Regions from separate parts of the Homo sapiens genome. Here region 2 is linked to region 1. Evidence: promoter capture Hi-C in human tissues and cell types (Jung and others, 2019). All regions are on one chromosome and are shown on one strand. Each heading gives the region's core, a stretch centred on a gene start or on the middle of the fragment in contact. The rest is flanking DNA. Distances are from core to core; before and after follow the strand shown.

What was found. Contacts are between HindIII fragments. The study calls those that stand out against the background at their distance.
Region 2: a contact is called between a fragment that was not itself captured here and the fragment with the promoter of METRN in region 1, in 4 of the 25 tissues and cell types used here (dorsolateral prefrontal cortex, lymphoblastoid cells, mesendoderm cells and 1 more).

Annotation. Positions count from the first base shown.
Region 1 is chr16:711,100-716,810 of GRCh38, forward strand. METRN (meteorin, glial cell differentiation regulator) reads left to right here and starts at 4,019. Exons shown (of 4, transcript NM_024042.4): 1 at 4,019-4,294; 2 at 4,485-4,885. The coding sequence starts at 4,191. RefSeq lists silencers at 761-890, 3,778-4,087, 4,188-4,617, 4,718-4,777 and enhancers at 3,035-3,633, 4,232-4,829, 4,830-5,427, 5,428-5,711. The HindIII fragment of the contact is 3,141 bases long and covers 1,631-4,771 here.
Region 2 is chr16:847,104-852,814 of GRCh38, forward strand. No RefSeq gene overlaps it. Among named protein-coding and RNA genes, the nearest start is that of GNG13, 49 kb to the left of the region's middle. The HindIII fragment of the contact is 6,946 bases long and covers 1-5,711 here.

The DNA of each region.
Region 1 (5,711 bases), core at 2,769-5,268:
AGGCTGGCCGCCCTGCCTTGGGCTGAGGGGCCTTGTGATATGGCGTCTGTGTTTGGCCACGGCCAGGCTGACCCGCAGGCGGGAGAGATGATTGTCCCAGACTCTGCACTCTCCAGGGGTGGCCTCACGCGCTAGGCCCAAGGTTTCTGAAACAAAGCCTCAGGGAAGTTCTTCCTTTTGTCTGACTTGAGTATGTCTTGCTGCTGTCGCGTTCTGACTTGGGTGGAAATGGAGAGAGGCCCCTTCTGGGGTTTCAGGGCACTCAAGGGTCTGGGGCTTGGGGCACTTGAGGGGGCCCCCAAACAGCACAGACAGCCACGGCATCACCTAAGCTTGGGGATGCCTTCCAGGCACTCCTCCGCCCAGCCACCCCCCACTTAGTCTGCTGGTATTTACTGAGCACCAGCACCCTGGCAAGTCGGGTCCTGTACCCATAGCAACTGAGGACAGACTCGGCCTTCCAGGCCCCTCCTGTAGGCAGCACAGCACTCACTGATGCCAGGTGCTTTCCTGGGTGGGGCCGGGGGCTGTGAGGAAAAGGGGTGTGTGTCCAGGGCTTCTCCTGTGGGTGGCTGCATTGGCACCGGATCCCCGGAGATGAGGCTGGGGAGGAGGCAGGGACGCCCGGGGTTGAGGCGTCAACTCGGGGCCAGGCATGTGCCATTCCAGACCAGGTCACCCCAGGAACCCCTCCCTCCAACCACAGACACTGGCCCCTCTCTGGAGGAGGCCTGGGGAGAAGTCCGGGGCCCAGGCTGTCAGGAGGGTGTCTGGGGCTGACCCTCACGCCGCCACCAGAGGGCGCCTGGAGCCCACCGTGCTGACCCGGGGACCGCCAAGCGGCAGCAGCCCTGGACGGCTGGGTGGCTGCAGCGGCCGACCCGTGTGCCTCTCCCCACCTCTGCGAGCACCTCATGTGCTCAGCCCCAGGCCGAGTCTACCCTTTAACCTTTACGATTTTTATATTTTATTTATTTATTTTTTAATTTTTATTGAGACAGGGTCTCTTCTGTCGCCCTGGTTGGAGTGCAGTGGTGCAATCACAGCTCACTGCAGCCTCACCCTCCTGGGCTTAAGCAATCCTCCTGCCACAGCCTCCCAAAGTGCTAAGACTACATGCATGAGCTGCTGCACCCAGCTAATTTTTGTAGTTTTAGTGGAGTTGGGGTTTCAACATGTTGGCCAGGCTGGTCTTGAACTCCTGATGTCAAGCGATCATCCTGCCTCAGCCTCCCAAAGTGCTGAGATTACAGGCAGGAGCTGCCACACCCGGCCTTAATTTTTATGTAATTAATTAATTAATTTTTATGAGACAGACTCTCACTCTGTCACCCAGGCTGGAGTGCAGTGGCCTGATCTCAGCTCACTGCAACCTCCACCTCCCGGGTTCAAGCGGTTCTCCTGTCTCAGCCTCCCAAGTAGCTAGGACTGCAGGCGTGCGCCACCACGTCCAGCTAATTTTTGTATTTTTAGTAGAGATGGGGTTTCACCATGTTGGCCAGGCTGGTCTCGAACTCCCGACCTTGTGATCTCCCTGCCTTGGCCTCCCAAACTGCTGAAATTACAGGTGGGAGCCGCTGCGCCTTGACAATTTTTATTTTTAATTGTAAGATATACATCATAACATCTACCATTTTACCCATTTTAAAGTGTGCAGTTCCGTACTGTTGAGTACATTTGTGTTGTGTAATCAAGCTCCTGAATTCTGTCCCCATTAAGCTCCAATCCCTCATTCCCCTCCCCAGCCCCTGCTCCACTTTCTGTCCTCATGACCGTGACTACTCTAAGGTGACTCACAGAAGTGGAATCCAACAGTGTTTGTCCTTTTGTCTCTGGCTTATTTTGCTCAGCGCATAAGCCTCCAGGCTCATCCAGGCTGTAGCGGGTGTCAAGGGACCAGAACTTCATTCCTTTTTATGGCTTAATAATGGACCCACCGCCAGGGGGTGCCGTGGCTCATGCCTGTAATCCCAACACTTTGGGAGGCTGAGGTGGGCGGATCACCTGAGGTCGGGAGTTCAAGACCAGCCTGACCAGCATGGAGAAACCTCGTCTCTACTAAAAATACAAAATTAGCCGGCATGATGGCACATGCCTGTAATCCCAGCTGCTCGGGAGGCTGACGCAGGAGAATCGCTTGAACCCAGGAGGTGGAGGTTGCAGTGAGCCAAGATCGCGCCATTGCACTCCAGACTGGGCAAAGAGCGAAACTCCATCTCAAAAAAAAAAAAAAAAAAAAAAAAAAAAAAGAGGCCGGGCGCGGTGGCTCACATCTGTAATCCCAGCACTTTGGGAGGCCAAGGCGGGCAGATCACGAGGTCAGGAGATCGAGACCATCCTGGCTAACACGGTGAAACACCCTCTCTACTAAAAAAAGAAAAAATACAAAAATTTAGCCGGGTGTGGTGGCGGGCGCCTGTAGTCTCAGCTGCTCGGGAGGCTGAGGCAGGAGAATGGCATGAACCCAGGAGGCAGAGGTTGCAGTGAGCCGAGATCGAGCCACTGCACTCCAGCCTGGGCGACAGAACGAGATTCCGTCTCAAAAAAAAAAAAAAAAATGGACCCACTGCACTTGCTTGTCCACTCAGCTGCAGACAGGCCTTTGGGAGTCTTCCACCTTTTGGGGATTGTGATGGCTACTTCTGACCTGCACCTCGCCCAGAGCAAGGGGCTGGCCGAGCCCAGTAGGCGCCTTGTTCCTGTTTGGCCTGGGAGGGCCCTGGGGTTGAGGGAGGGCCTGGTCAGTGGGATCCAGCCTCCCACTGCCACTGAGCCATCTGGCCTCATCTGTCCGACTGCCACTGGTGAACTCATCTGTCCACCATGAGTTTCGAGCGCCGGGTGGCAGGAGGTTTGGGGGCAGGGGACGGAATGTTCACATCTTCAGGCTGCACAGTCTATGCTGGTCCTTGCAGTCCCCGGCTAAAGCTTCTGTCGTCCGTAAGGGGTTCAGTATGTAGTGGGACCCCTTTGCTTGTGCCTTAGGCCTTCTGTGATCTGACCTGTCGTCCCCACCCACCACCCATGCCCTGGGGTTTCACTGGGCTGCCAAGAGCTCCTTCCTCAGGCCCTTGACCCAGGCTGTCTGCTCTCCCCCATTCTCTTCCTGTCCACCTGGCCAGCCACTGCCCACTTCCTCCCATCAGGCCAACTCAGCAGTCCCGGATGCTGGGAATCCCACACTGCTCCAGCCTGAGGCTACAGTGTGTTTGCGAATCGCCTGTTTCTGCTTGTTTCATCTTGGTGGGGGCTGCTCCTGTGGCCCAGGGGTGTCCTCCCAGCTCCTGTGTCTCCACGTGCTGCAGGCCTGCAGGGGTGCCCGTGGCTGCTCCATTCACGCCCCTCCAGGAGCCCCGTCTGGCCCGGGGTCGGTCATCCGGCAACTATGGGGTGCCGCTAGGTCTGAGGAAAGGGGCCTAAGCCTGCGGGCTGCGCGCTCTTCAGCAGGACCCCCTCCTGCAGACGGCCTTACCAAAACCCGAGGCCTGGCCCCGCTCCAAGGCGCAGCCCCCAGGCCAGGCCTTCCCCGCCTCTGGAGTCATGACCCCTCTCCTCTGGGGCTCCACCGGCCTCTGGTCAGCAGGACCGGACCTGGTTGGGAGGGATGTGGCCAACAGGCCCAGGTCCCAGTGTTAGGAAGGAGCAGGCCCGGCCGCCCGCGAGGCGGAACCACCAGGTGGGCCACCTTCCCTACCGCCACCCCGAGGTTCCAGTGGACATCAAAACCTCGGCTCCATCAGAGGCTCCAGGACTCCGATCGGGACAGCGCGGGGGGCGAGGCCAGGGTGAGGGCGCGGCGAAGGAGAGACGCACAGCGCGGGGCGGGCAAGGAGCCTCCCTTCCGCGCCAAGGCCCCCCCCAACCCTCGAGGCGCTTGGACCGTGGGATAGTCCTCCGGCGGCGCCCGAGCTCCGGCCCCGCCCCCGCTCCGCCCCGCGCCTGCTATTGGCGGAAAGTTCCGGGCCGCGCCGCGACTGGCCGACACGCCGCAGGCCCCGCCCCCTTCCCGACCCGCTCCAAGGCGGCCCCGGCGCTGGGGCTGCGCGGCAGGCGGAGCGGCCGCGGGCTTGGGGGCTTCGCCGGGGCCGGGCGGCCGGCGCCCCCGGCTGCTCCCGCCGCCGCCCGGACCCGCGCCCCGCCGGGGCAGCGGTGGTGAGAGCCCCGACTCCCCGGACGCCGCCCGCCGTGCCATGGGGTTCCCGGCCGCGGCGCTGCTCTGCGCGCTGTGCTGCGGCCTCCTGGCCCCGGCTGCCCGCGCCGGCTACTCCGAGGAGCGCTGCAGCTGGAGGGGCAGGTACGGTCCGGGGGGCTGTCCCCGCACTTAGGACGGGGTGCGCTGCGGCTAGGACCCCCCAGGCGCCCCTCGGAGCGCGCAGAGCGCTGGGCCGGTTTCCCCATCCGCGAGGCGGCCTCGGGAGGGAGCGGGGGCTGCGCCGGGCGGGGACCCGCCCCCGTCTCAGCGCCCCGTCCCGTCCTGTCCCCAGCGGCCTCACCCAGGAGCCCGGCAGCGTGGGGCAGCTGGCCCTGGCCTGTGCGGAGGGCGCGGTTGAGTGGCTGTACCCGGCTGGGGCGCTGCGCCTGACCCTGGGCGGCCCCGATCCCAGAGCGCGGCCCGGCATCGCCTGTCTGCGGCCGGTGCGGCCCTTCGCGGGCGCCCAGGTCTTCGCGGAGCGCGCAGGGGGCGCCCTGGAGCTGCTGCTGGCCGAGGGCCCGGGCCCGGCAGGGGGCCGCTGCGTGCGCTGGGGTCCCCGCGAGCGCCGGGCCCTCTTCCTGCAGGCCACGCCGCACCAGGACATCAGCCGCCGCGTGGCCGCCTTCCGCTTTGAGCTGCGCGAGGACGGGCGCCCCGAGCTGCCCCCGCAGGCCCACGGTCTCGGCGTAGACGGTGAGTGGCGGTCTGGTTGGGACAGGGTGGGAGTCCCGAAGTCTTACCCTGCCTGGGCTTGGCGGGAATGTGCCTTGTCGGCCCCACTGCAGAAGGAAAAAGTGAGCTACAAGGGTTGGATGGGCTTGTCAGGCCACACAGCCTGGGACTGCTGGGGAGGGATGGCCTCCCCGCCCTCCCTTCCCGATTCATCTCTGGAAAGAGCTGGCAGGGGCAGAGTGGAGGGAAGGGGAGGCCGGGCCCAGCAATCCTGGGCCTCTGGTCCCTGAACGGTTGGGGGAAGAGATGGTGGGGACAGAATCGAAGCCTCCGGCCAAAGCTGTCCGGGGCTCCCTGGCCCAGCGGTGACCTCTCTCCCCTCCCCCAGCCCAACCAACAAAAGTCCAGTGTGCAGCCCGGTCACCATGGAGACGCCGCTCGCCTCCCTGCAGGGCACCAGGCCCAGCTCTTGCTTGGCTCTCCTGGAGCTTGGCGCCTGACCCTGAAAGGGATGGGCTCTCGCTATTCTGCCCCCTGGCCCTGGGCCAGGGACCCCAGACCACCCTTCCTCTGCCCCCACTTCCTATCACCCTAGCTGGGCTGCTGCTCTTCAGACCTCAGATCCGGGAAACTAGAGGGGTCCCAGATGCTGGGGTGCATATGTCAGATGGGAGTGCAGGAGGGCGGCCCAGGACAGCTGATCGCTAGGCATGGCCCCCAGGCCCACGTCTGTGTGCATTCCTGCCTTGGAGGTACGCGCCTGCAAGTGTGTTTCCTGAGTACAGGTGTCGCCGAGGGCGTGCACATCTGCTGTGTAGCTCTCTGGGACCCCCAGGTGCCATCAGGC
Region 2 (5,711 bases), core at 1,002-3,501, 130 kb after region 1:
GTGTCTGTAATGTGTCCCGGTTTCCTGTAACCCGTGTGTGTCCCGTGTCTGTAATGGGTCCTGGTTTCCTGTAAAGCTGTGTGTGTCCCGTGTCTGTAATGTGTCCCGGTTTCCTGTAAACCCGTGTGTGTCCCGTGTCTGTAATGTGTCGCGGTTTCCTGTAAACCCCTGTGTGTCCCATATCATCTGGACTAGGTACCTTCTCCCAGCGGCCCGGGGTGCTGACCTGGCTCAGTGCCTCTTCTTTCCTTTGCTGAGTGTTCTTTCCTCTTTTTTGTTGTTCAGATGAGAGTCTGTTGATGTTCCTCCAGCATGTCCACATGGCTGCGGGTGAAGGGCTTCACAGTAGCCCACCGTGGGCAGGTGTTTAAGGAACAACTTCCAGGTTAGGAAAAAGATGAGGCAGAGGAGATGGCCCCACCTGCCACCCAAGAGAAAAAGAGGCTCAGGGAGGGGAGGAAAGGATGTTGCGGCCCGCCATCTGTCTGCACACCAACCGTCAGAGCTGACGGAAGCTTTCGCCAACTTGCTTCCAGCAATGGGCCAACGACAATCAAGGCGGCTATGACGGCCAGTCCAGGGCTGGTTTGAAAGCTGTAACAGTTTGGACAGTGTGGTATGACCTGGGCAGGTATAGATCACACTGGGTCAGGTGTAAACCCTAGAACGGTGAGCCACCAACCCAGACTCAGCGGGTCAGCTGCGGCCCCTGGCCAGGCGGCCCAGGCAAAGTAAGGTGGCCGCAGCCCTGCAGGGAGGGTGGCACTGTCCGCAAACCCTCCCGGTGCCCCGGGTTCCCCAATGCGCTCAGACCTGGGGGTGGGCACGGAGGCCCCCCAGCCTTCCCCTGCCTAGTGCCTGGGGTGCTTCTTCCCAGCGCCTGGAGGTTTCCATCCCTCCCGCACACAGCGCTTGGAGCAAGATGGGAGGGAGGTGCCTGCTTGCTGCCTCCTGCTGGTGTGTGGGAGCCCAGGTGAACACTGGGTGGTGCGGAAAGCCACCAGCGTGATGTGGGAAGGCCATTTGCTAAGCGCCAGGTGGGCCCGGGTGTGGGCTGGGTGGGCAGCCTGGCTCGCGGCGTAAGGGGCAAGCTATCCAGGCAGCAGTGGGCTGAGAATTGCCGGCATCACCTGTCATTTGCTCGCGTGGTCCTCAGTGAATCAAAGTTTGCATGTCCGTGACTGCGGCCATCATCAGAGCTTGTGGGACCACTGGTGGCTCCGTACGGCACTTTCGGGTTAACCAGCATCCAGGTGCACTGAGCCTTGGTCTTAAGCGGCTCCAGCCCCATGCACGCCACAGAGAAGGAGTGAAGCGCGTTCCCTGCCCGGCATCCTGAGCCCCACTGGACCTTCTGGCAGGGTGAGGGTCTGGGCCCTGAGGCAGGGAGGCCCAGGGTCTCAGGACGCTTAAGACACTCTGCTTTGCTTTGCTGTATTTCAAAACATTGAGGTGAAGTTGACATTTACATAAAATTAACCACTTAAAGGTCAGCAGTGTGGTGCACGTAACACATTGGCCACACGCACAACCAGCATCTCTGCCTAATTCCAGATATTTTCATCACCCGCCAGAGAACCTTCTGGACCTGTGAGCCGTCATGCCCGCTCTCCCTGTTCCTGCCAGCAGCCCCGAGAGCCGTCCACCTTCTCCCTGCCCAGCGTCTCTGTGGGTTTCCCTGTTCTGGACATTCCAGAGACGGCATCGCAGGACCGGTGCCCTCTGTGTCTGGCGGGTTCACTGGGCATCAGGTTCTCAAGGCTCATCTGAGCGTCGGGGCCTCGCTCCTCTTTGCGGCTGCGTAATGCTCATGGGTGAGCACACCTGGTCTGTTCATCTGGGCTGTCCCCACCTCTGGGCTGCTGCAAACGTTCCGGTGCAAGCACACCCAGGTCCCCGTTTCCCGCTCTCCCGGGTCTACATGCAGATGTGGAGTTGCGGGGTCACGTGGTTCCCGTTTCTAGCTCTCCCAGGTCTACGTGCAGACGTGGAGTTGCGGGGTCACGTGGTCCCCGTTTCTAGCTCTCCCGGGTCTCCGTGCAGACGTGGAGTTGCGGGGTCACGTGGTCGCCGTTTCTAGCTCTCCCGGGTCTACGTGCAGACGTGGAGTTGCGGGGTCATGTGGTCATCCGTCTACACTGAACATTTCGAGGAACCCCCAGACAGTCTCCACGTGGCCACATCATTCTGATGCATGGCAGACGAGCCCGAAAGAGGAGCTTAGTCCCAGAGGGTTCTTGGCTTTGCCCAGGAAAGAATTCAAGGTCGAGCCAGAGGTGGAAGGAAACAGCTTTACTTCAGAGGTGGGGTTACAGCTGTGGCTGCTCCCGCAGGGCAGGGCTTCCACAGACAGCAGCCCGGGGCAGCTCTGCAGTCTCACTTATAGCCACAGTTTTTTTTTTTAAAGACAGAATATTACTCTATTGCCCAGGCTGGAGTGCAGTGGTACGGTCTCAGCTCACTGCAACATCTGCCTCCCGGGTTCAAGCGATTCTTCTGCCTCAGCCTCCCGAGTAGCTGGGACTACAGGTGCCTGCCACGCCAGGCTAATTTTTGTATTTTTGGCACAGACGGGGTTTCACTATGTTGGCCAGGCTGGTCTCAAACTCCTGACTTCAGGTGATCCGCCTGCCTTGGCCTCCCAAAGTGCTGGGATTACAGGTGTGAGCCACTGTACCCGGCCAGAAATGTCAAATTTTGATGAAGTCCAATTTATTTTCTGTGTTGTTGCCGGTGCTGTTGTTGTCATATCCAAGAAAACACTGCCAAATCCAATGTCCTTAAGATTTTCCCAGGTTTTATTCTGAGTCTTACAGTTTTAGCTCTTACATTTAGGTGTTTCATCCTATGTTTTTTGGGTTAATTTTTGTGTATGCTGTTAGGTAAGGGGCCAGCTTCATTCATTATTTTGCATGTGGAGATAAAGCTTTCCCAGTACCATTTGCTGAAAAGGCTGTCCTCTTCCCATTGAATGGTCTCAGAGCCTTTGTCGGAAGGTACCAGGCCACGTGTGGGACAATTTCTTGGGTCATTCTCATCGGAAGGTACCTGGTTGTTCTCGTTGGAAGGTGCCTGGTTGTTCTTGTCGGAAGACACCTGGTTGTCCTCGTTGGAAGGTACCTGGCTGCGTGTGGGACGATTTCTTGGGTCGTTGTTGTCAGAAGGTACCTGGTTGCATGTGTGGAATGATTTCTCGGGTTGTTCTCATCGGAAGGTACCTGGTTGTTCTCATCGGAAGGTACTGGTTGTTCTCGTTGGAAGGTATGTGGCCGTGTGTGGGATGATTTCTCGGGTTGTTCTCATTGGAAGGTACGTGGCTGCATGTGGGACAATTTCTCGGGTCATTTTCGTCGGAAGGTACCTGGTTGTTCTTGTCGGAAGGTACCTGGTCGTTCTCGTTGGACGGTACCTGGCCGCGTGGGGGATGATTTCTGTGGTTGTTGTTGTCAGAAGGTACCTGGTTGCATGTGTGGAATGATTTCTCGGGTTGTTCTTGTCGGAAGGTACCTAGTTCTCGTCGGAAGGTATGTGGCCGTGTGTGGGATGATTTCTCGGGTTGTTGTCATTGGAAGGTACGTGGCTGCGTGTGGGACGATTTCTCGGGCTGTTCTCGTCAGAGGTACCTGGCCGCATGCGTGGGACGATTTCTCAGGTTGTTCTCATTGGAAGGTACCTGGCCACGTGTGTGGGACGATTTATTGGGTTGTTCTCGTCGGATGGTACTTGGCCACATGTGGGACGATTTCTCTGGCCGTTCTCGTCAGAAGGTACCTAGCCGTGTGTAGGACGATTTCTCGGGTTCTTGTCGGACGGTACCTGGCCGCATGTGGGATGATTTCTCGGGTTGTTCTCATCGGACAGTACCTGGCCGTGTGTGTGGGACGATTTCTCGTGTTGTTCTCATTGGGCGGTACCTGGCCGCATGTGGGACGATTTCTCGGGTGGTTACTGTGCCCCGTTTATCTCTAGGTCTCCATGCTGCTGTGATACTGTTTTGACGAGGGAGCTTTCTTTTCTGCCACTGTGGGCCAGCTGCTGCCGTCTGTGGTATTCTTGTGTGTTGCTGATCTGAAGCTCCAAAGCTGCCATTCTCCCAAACCTTCCTGCTCAGATGAGGACCTGGGCAGTCTGAGACCTCCAAGCTGCAGTGAGAATGGCTGAGGGCCTGACCCAGCCAGGGAGGCTGCTCTGGGGACTCCAGGGTGCCTCTCCCTTCCCCCAGGCCCACAGTTGACCCAGCAGACCCACACTGAGGGCCTGGTGCGGGACTGGGGCAGCTTAGTGTCAGGGCGCAGAGCAGGCCCTGGAGAGCCAGGGGGTTGCCGTGTGGGCGCTGGCACTGGTTGCTAGTGTAAAGGCCCCACGGCCCTGACCACACAGGGACCCCAGACGTTTGGGGGAGATGGGCTCAGTGTGGTGAGGCCTTGGGACTATCTGCCAAAGACAGATGAGGTGAGGGGAACCCAGCCTTGGAAGGGTCAGGTGTGACAGACTCTGGGTCTGCAGAGGGTGCAGGCTCCACTCCAGCCGAGGCTGTCACAACCCGACCTCAGGTCACCTGTCCGCCCCAGGTGAGTGGACGTCTCTGGGAACCTGGATCCAGAGACTGGACCCCCACCATTAGGGCTCCTCTGCCTGCCAGCTGAGGGGGTCTCCCTGAGCAGGGCTGGACACTCACGGGTCAGAGCCAAGGGCTCCATGGAGTGGGCCCTCGAGGCCCCCAGCTGGGTCCAGGGGCCCCCCTATTTTTGTGACCTTGGTGGGGTACCCAGAGGTGGTAGCAGACCTGCCTTCCACAGTGACAGGCCCCCGAGGCTGGCCGAGATGGGGAGGGCAGATCACACCATGACTCCCACCCCGAGCACCCCTTCAGATGCCCAGGCCTCCGCCCCCAGGGGACTTCCTGACCACAGGCATCGGCCTGACACGTGTCGGGGCCACTGGCCCCATTGCCCCACACCGGCAGGTGGGACCCTCCGTCACACAGAACACAGGCAGCCGGGGGCTGGGCGTCTCGCACAGACTCTGTGGAGAGTTCAGACGTGAGGGAAGAAGCTGACATGCCCGATGGGAGGGCTGAGGCCCGTGATTCCGTTTATATGAAGGGTCCCGAACAGGGACCCACAGAGGCATGAGATGGATTCCCTGGGGCTAGAGGCTCTGTCTGGAAGATGGAAATGGGCTGGATGGAGGGGAGGTGGATGCACGGCCTCGGGAGCGCACTCCACACCACAAACTGTTCGCTTAATGACGGCCCTGGTCCACTTCATGCTGTGTGACTTGACCCCACATGCCCTGTGACCCCACCCCCAGGTCCCCTGGGAAGTCACAGCTGCCATCCCCAACGGAGGATGAGGGTGTCTGCTCCAGGGCTCTTGCAGGCCCTTCCCGTGGTCCCAGGACAGTGCTGCGGAGTCTCTGGGCTGTGGGTCCCATGAACGGGGTGCCCAGTCACTACTGCTGTGGGCTCCTGCCCTGCCCCCCTTGACCAGGACCTGCAGCCCCACTACGGGGTCCCCGGGAGACCAGTGGTGCACAGCTGCCCTGGGACAAGAGGAGCCTGGAGCGGGGTGAAGGAGCCCGGGAGGAGGGGCTGTGGGATTCGGGACCCACTACGGGGAGGACAGCCGCACGGGAGGGTTCCGGGCAGGGGGCATGGAGGGCTGTTGGCTCCTCAGGTCTCCCCCTTGCAGAGGCTGGGCAGGGGCACC